Regions from separate parts of the Homo sapiens genome. Here region 1 is linked to region 2. Evidence: promoter capture Hi-C in human tissues and cell types (Jung and others, 2019). All regions are on one chromosome and are shown on one strand. Each heading gives the region's core, a stretch centred on a gene start or on the middle of the fragment in contact. The rest is flanking DNA. Distances are from core to core; before and after follow the strand shown. Region 1 overlaps NFATC3 (nuclear factor of activated T cells 3). Region 2 holds the start of RANBP10 (RAN binding protein 10).

What was found. Contacts are between HindIII fragments. The study calls those that stand out against the background at their distance.
Region 1: a contact is called between a fragment that was not itself captured here and the fragment with the promoter of RANBP10 in region 2, in 1 of the 25 tissues and cell types used here (IMR-90 fibroblasts).

What each region holds. Positions count from the first base shown.
Region 1 is chr16:68,110,990-68,114,450 of GRCh38, reverse strand. The region is part of intron 1 of NFATC3 (nuclear factor of activated T cells 3); the gene reads right to left. Among named protein-coding and RNA genes, the nearest start is that of NFATC3, 27 kb to the right of the region's middle. The HindIII fragment of the contact is 6,107 bases long and covers 1-3,461 here.
Region 2 is chr16:67,804,975-67,808,394 of GRCh38, reverse strand. RANBP10 (RAN binding protein 10) reads left to right here and starts at 1,835. Exons shown (of 14, transcript NM_020850.3): 1 at 1,835-2,093; 2 at 2,856-2,967. The coding sequence starts at 1,859. It overlaps TSNAXIP1 (translin associated factor X interacting protein 1), which reads right to left and starts at 1,506. Exons shown (of 16, transcript NM_001288990.3): 1 at 1,199-1,506. The coding sequence starts at 1,245. RefSeq lists silencers at 1,277-1,396, 1,897-2,116 and enhancers at 1,537-1,766, 1,472-2,091, 2,092-2,712. The HindIII fragment of the contact is 11,094 bases long and covers 1-3,420 here.

The DNA of each region.
Region 1 (3,461 bases), core at 944-3,443, 310 kb before region 2:
AACAACTTCAAGAAAAAACATTTGCAAAGAAGTTAAGAAAACACTAGTTTAGGCAGGAGGAGCCAAGATGGCTGATTAGAAGCCACTCCAGTCTGCGGCTCCCACTAAGAGGAGCAAAAACGGCCAGTGAATCCTGCTCCGTCAACTGAGGTATCCAGGTTCTCTCACTGGGACTGACTAGGTGGTTGGTGTGATCCACACAGAGCTAGGAAAAGCAGGGTAGAGCGACAACCTGACCTGGTAGCCACAAAGGCGAACTCCCACACCCAGCCAAGGGAGGTGGTGAGTAACTGTGCTACCCTGCGCGGGAAACCAGACTTTTTCCACAGATCTGTACATCCCATGGATCAGGAAATCCCCTCATGAGCCCACGCCACCAAGGCCTTGGGACCCAAGCACAGAGCTGTGCAACCTGCTCAGGTTGTGGCTAGCAGCAGCAGGCTGGACACTGCCTAAGACTACCAAGTTCCCACGGAAAGGGGCAGTCGCCATCACTGCGGCTCCAGTCTGCCATTTTCCTTTGCTGGTGTTGGGGAAACTTGGCGGTTTGGACGAAGAGGAATTCCCCACAGCACAACACAGTGGCGGTGGCAGATCGTGGCCAGATTGTTTCCTTAGGTGGGACCCAGATCCTTCTCTCTTCACCAGGCAGAACCTCCTTGCAGGAACTGCAGTAACTCTAGCCAGGAGTTTATGGACAGAACTCTGATATCCCTGGGAAGGAGCCTCTACGGGTAGGGGTGGTCATGGTCTCATGGTTCAGCTGACCTAGTCTTTCCTGCCTGTTGGCAGTCCAGATGAGGGGAATTCTCCCCAGCACAGCCGAACCTGCTCAGCCAAGGGGCAGTCAGACTGCTTCTTTAAGCAGGTTCCTGATCCCATCCCTCCTGACTGGGTGAGACCTCCCAACTGGGGTCACCAGGCACCTGATACAGGAGCGTTCCAGCCAGCATCAGCTCCGTGCCTTCTGGGATGAAGCTCCCAGAGGAGGAGGCAGCCATCTTTGCTGTTCTGCAGCCTCCACTGCTTATACCTCCAGGTGCAGGAGGGGGTAGATGAATTAGGTCAGGAGTGGTCCCCTAGTAAACTGCAGCAGCCCTACCCTATGGAAGAGGGGCCTTACTATTAAAAGAAAAACAAACAGAAAGCAACAACAACAACATCAACACAAAAGATCCCACAAAAACCCTATCCAAAGGTCAGCAGCCTCAAAGATCAAAGGCAGATAAATCCACAAAGATGAGAAAGAATCAATGCAAGAACGCTGAAATCTCAAAGAGCCAGAGTGTCTCTTCTCTAAATGATTGCAACACTTCTCCATCAAGGGCAGAGAACTGGGCTGAGGCAGAGAAGAATGAATTGACAGAAGTAGGCTTCAAAAGGTAGGTAATAACAAACTTCGCTGAGCTAAAGGAGTATGTTTTAACCCAAGGCAAAGAAGCGAAAAACCATGATAAAACATTACAGGAGCTGTTAACCAGAATGGCTAGTATACAGAGGAACATAAATGACCTGATTGAGCTGAAAAACACAACAGGAGAGCTTCACAATACAACCACAAGTATCAACAGCTGAACAGACCAGGCAGAGGAAAGGATATCAGAGCTTGAAGACTATCTTGCTAAAATAAGACGGGCAAACAAGGTTAGAGAAAAAAAAAAAATGTCGGGAGGCTGAGGCAGGAGAATGGCGTGAACCCAGGAAGCGGAGCTTGCAGTGAGCCGAGATTGCGCCACTGCAGTCCGCAGTCCGGCCTGGGCGACAGAGCGAGACTCCGTCTCAAAAAAAAAAAAAAAAAAAAAAACGAAAAAGAAAAAATGAAAAGAAATGAACAAAACCTCCAAGAACTATGGGATTATTTAAAAGAATGAACCTGGCTGGGCACAGTGGCTCACGCCTATAATCCCAGCACTTTGGGAGGCCGAGGCGGGTGGATCACGAGACCAGGAGTTCAAGACCAGCCTGGTCAAGATGGTGAAACCCCATCTCTACTAAAAATACAAAAATCAGCCAGGCGTGGTGGTGTGTGCCTGTAGTCCCAGCTACTCGGGCGGCTGAGGCAGAAGGATCGCTTGAACCCAGGAGGTGGAGGTTGCAGTAAGCCAAGATCACGCCACTGCACTCCAGCCTGGGCAACACAGCAAGACTCCATCTCAAAAAAAAAAAAAAAAAAAAAAAAAAAGACTGAACCTACAACTGGGGTACCTGAAAGAGACGGGGAGATCGCATCCAAGTCGGAAAACATACTTCACGGTATCATCCATGAGAACTTCCCCAACCTAGCAAGATAGGCCACCATTCAAATTCAGGAAATTCAGAGAAACCCAGTAAGATACTCCATGAGAAGATCAATCCCAAAACACATTATCATCAGATTCTCCAAGGTTGAAATGAAGGAAAAAATGTTAAGCGCAGGGAGAGAGGACAGATCACCACAAAGGTAAGCCCATCAAACTAACAGTGGACCTCTCAGCAGAAACCCTACAAGCCAGAAGAGATTGGATGCCAATATTCAACATTCTTAGAAAAGAATTTCCAACCCAAATGTCATATCCGGACAAATTAAGCTTCGTAAGTGAAAGAGAAATAAAGTCCTTTTCAGACAAGCAAATAATGAGGGAATTCAGCACCACCAGGTCTGCTTTACAAGAATTCCTGAAGGAAGCACTAAATATGGAAAGCAAAAACCATTATCAGCCACTACAAAAACACACTCAAGTACACAGACGAATGACACTATGAAGCAACTACATTAACACGTCTGCAAAATAACCAGCCAGCATTATGATGACAGGACCAAATTCACACATAACAATATTAACCTTAAAAGTAAATGGACTAAATACCCCAATTAAAATACACAAAATGGTTAGCTGGCTAAAAAGACAAGAACCATTGGTGTGCTGTATTCAAGAGACCCATCTAACATGCAAAGACATGCACAGGCTCAAAATAAAGAGATGGAGGAAAATTTACAAAGCAAATGGAAGGCAGGAAAAAAGCAGGGGTTGCAATCCTAGTTTCTGACAAAACAGATTTTAAACCAACAAGATCAAAAAAAGACAAAGAAGGGCATACAGCATGGTAAAGGGTTCAATTCAACAAGAAGAGCTAACTATCCTAAATATATATGCACCCAATACAGGCACACTCAGTTTCATAAAACAAGTTTTTAGAAACCTACAAAGAGACTTAGACTCCCACACAACAATAGTGGGAGACTTAACACCCCACTGTCAATATCAGACAGATCATCGAGACAAAAAATTAACAAAGATATTCAGGACTTGAGTTCAGCTGTGATCAAGTAGACTTACCCAAAAACAGAATATACATTCTTCTCAGTGCCACATGGCACTTACTCTAGATTCGATCACATACTTGGAAGTAAAACACTCCTCAGCAAATGCAAAAGAAATGAAATCATAACTGTCTCTCAGACCACAGCGCAATCAAATTAG
Region 2 (3,420 bases), core at 586-3,085:
CCACGTTAGCCAGGATGGTCTCGATCTCCTGACCTAGTGATCCCCCCGCCTCGGCCTCCCAAAGTGCTGGGATTATAGGCGTGAGCCACCGTGCCTGGCCTCTTAGGGGCTTTTGTAGGCTTTTCTCTGTCAAGGCAGCAGACCCTGAAGAGTTTAGGTGGGATTGGGTGGTGTTTTTTTTTTTTTCCCCCACTGGGAATGAGTAGAAGGGGGGACACTACATTCATTCAACACTTACTGGGTGCCTATTACATACAAGAGCTGTGTCAAGAGCTTCACATATTCTGCCTAAATGTTCCCAACAATGTTTGTGGGGTGGGCTGTATCATTCCCATGTTTGAGATATATAAGCTGAGGCCTGGAACTTGAAGGGCCCTGTCTGAAGTCCCAAAACTAGAAAACGATTTAGCCAAAATTTTTGTTTTAATCCGTATGTATGGCTCTCCAGGCTGATGGAGCTGGTCATATTTTGCAGTACCCAGAGGCTATACACCTGAGTACAGGCAGAAGCTACCCAGAGGATGATCTCTCCAGGCTTCTAAAGTATTTCTTTACTTGTTCAATGGTAATATTACTACTTTATACAGTTGTTGTGAGGATTAAATATGGTACGTAGGCCGGGTGTGGGGGTTCACGCTTGTAATCCCAGTTTGAGAGGTCGAAGTGGGAGGGTCGCTTGAGTCTAGGAGTTCGAAACCAGCCTGGGCAACGTGGTGAAACCTCGTCTCTACAAAAAACAAACGAACAAAGAAACACCCAAAAATTAGCCAAGCGTAGTGGCGCATGCCTGTAGTCCCAGCTACTCGGGAGGCTGAGGTAGAAGGATCGCTTGAGCCCGGGAGGTCGAGGCTGCAGTGAGCCGTAGTAGTGCCACTGCACTCCAGCCTGGGCGACAGAACGAGATCTTGTCTCAAAAATAAAATATTTAAAAATGTGGTATATAAAGCATTTGGCATATAGTACATTCAATACAAGCTGGTTGTTACTAGTAATGATAAAGTGCGCCTACCGTTTTGCTAGCACGTAACGTCTTCACTGGGCTAAATCAGCCCGATTCTAACCATTGACTCTGTGGTGCTGGAGCCCTAGATCAATGGTCAGAGGCCAGCAGGAGGTGCAGAGGTCCGGATCAAGTGCCATTTCCCTCTCTAGAAGTACTCAAACCCTCATCTCTGCCCTCATCCCTGCCAGCGCCTACCTCGACGCGGACGAGAAGCTGTGGTACCGCGACTGCTGGCAGGCCATGACCCACGGGCAGGCGGGCAATCAGCACCCGCGGCCTGGGAAGCTGTGGTAGCGTACAGCCGGTCGCCATGGCGACCAGGCCCCAGAGGCCCCCCCGCGGCGGGGGCGGAGTCAGGGATGCGCCACGCCCCCGAGCCTAGCGCCCGCGGGCTGGGAGTAGGACAAAGTAGCAAAGGTGGACTGGGACCCGGCAGCGGGTGCCCTGAGAGTCAACCACTACAGCCGATTTGACCCCAGGTACCAGAACTGAGGCAGGGGGATGAACAGAGGCCATGGGGAGGGAAGTGTGCTGAGAGGCCGGAGCCGCTTTGCCGGCGGGAATGGTAGTTTTCGGTGTCCCGACGTCTCGATGGGACAGGCTTATGGCTGAGGACGGTTATACTACATCTCCCAGAATTCTCTACCAGCCCGAGTTGCTCCGCCTCTCGAGAGCTCTGCATTGTGGGGTATGGAGTTCGAAATGTGGTAAGGCGTGTCAGTGTCCAAAGAGGGGTGCCGGACTCGGACTCGGTTTCCCTGCGGCCCAGGGAGGCTCACGGGCCATTGGCTGAGCGGGGCGGATCTGGTCCCGCTCCTCCCCGCCCCCAGTGACACAATAGTAGCTCCCTCCAAGATGGCGGCAGCGACGGCAGACCCGGGAGCTGGGAACCCGCAGCCTGGGGACTCCTCCGGCGGGGGCGCTGGGGGCGGGCTGCCGTCCCCTGGGGAGCAGGAGCTGAGCCGGCGCTTGCAGCGCCTGTATCCCGCGGTCAACCAGCAAGAGACTCCGCTGCCGCGCTCCTGGAGCCCCAAGGACAAATACAACTACATTGGTCTCTCCCAGGGCAACCTCCGCGTCCACTACAAAGGTATCGGCCCGTCAGGCTGGGGGGAATTAAGGCTAGAGCGTCCGTGGGGTGGCTCTGCTGCCAGGCCCCCGCCCTATCACCTCCCTTTCCCTGCCTAGGTGCTCCAAGTTAGGGCTTGGCCCTTTCAGGATGTCCAGGGTGGTGAGGCTGAACAGGCCGAGGGCTGACTGCCTGTTCTCTGTCCTGAGACACCTGCCGTCAAGAGAACCGCAACAGGTGTCCAAACCCAGTGCTGGGCCGGACCTTCCACTCCAGGGCCTCCGTGCTTATCCTAGGCTGGCGCCAACGGCAGCGGGACCTTTCGCCACTGCTTAGAAGAAAGGGGTGGTCACATACCTACCATTAGCGTGAGACTCATGGGCTTCCCCACCTGCCAGGCATCCTAGACTGAGCCTGGGGTTCCGTGCTAGAGTTTGGGGGGTGTCTTCCAGGTCGGCCTCATCCTTCTTCCCCTGGCCTCCCAGGTGGGCTGCCTGGATTCTAGAGAGGCTGCCAGCAGCACTTGAGTATCTCTCACATTGCCTCTACCCTTGTTTTGTTTGTATGGGCAGTGTCTCAGGCAGGACTGCTGTTCTCAGGAGGAGGTGAGGCAAAGGTGGAAGGTTTAAGTGTTTATTCAGTTGTCTAATGATTCCTCGGCCTGTGTAAGTGCGTCCTCTGGCCACAGAGGAGTGGAGTTGTCATGGAGGAGTTGCAGAGAAAAATGAGGCTTCCATTTGCATTTCCTTCTGCTGAAATTTCTTACTTGCCCTCTCCTGTTAGGTCATGGCAAAAATCACAAAGATGCGGCCTCAGTGCGTGCCACCCACCCCATACCTGCTGCCTGTGGCATTTATTACTTTGAAGTGAAGATTGTCAGCAAAGGAAGAGATGGGTAAGCCCTTCATGACCACCCTCTTTCCCTGATCATGGAGCTGATCCCTGTGGTCAGAGTTCAGGTCCTTTGGCTGGCACTTGTTGCTGATGTGAGCTGGGGAGCCGCATGGGTCTGGGCTGCCATTATTTCCTGACTGTGGGCATGGTCTGGTCTAAGCAGCAGATCTTGATGGCCAGTGGGTGTGTTGGGGGTAAAGCAGGGATTATTTTTAGTGATGATGTAATTTGATACCTAGAAGGTTAGGCAAACAAGTAACAAGTTTACTTTAAAAATTTAGTGTCCAGAATGGAGTTTCCCTCATGAGCATGTGGTGTTTTTGTGACTTCCTTCCTTTCACATTCTTGCTGTATTCATGAGGTTCTTTTTTATGGCATTTAGTCATGTGGAGGCCCTGGTAGCCTTCAAAGAGATAGTAGAGTCTTTGCAGCATTCATGAAAGCTTCTGTGGCC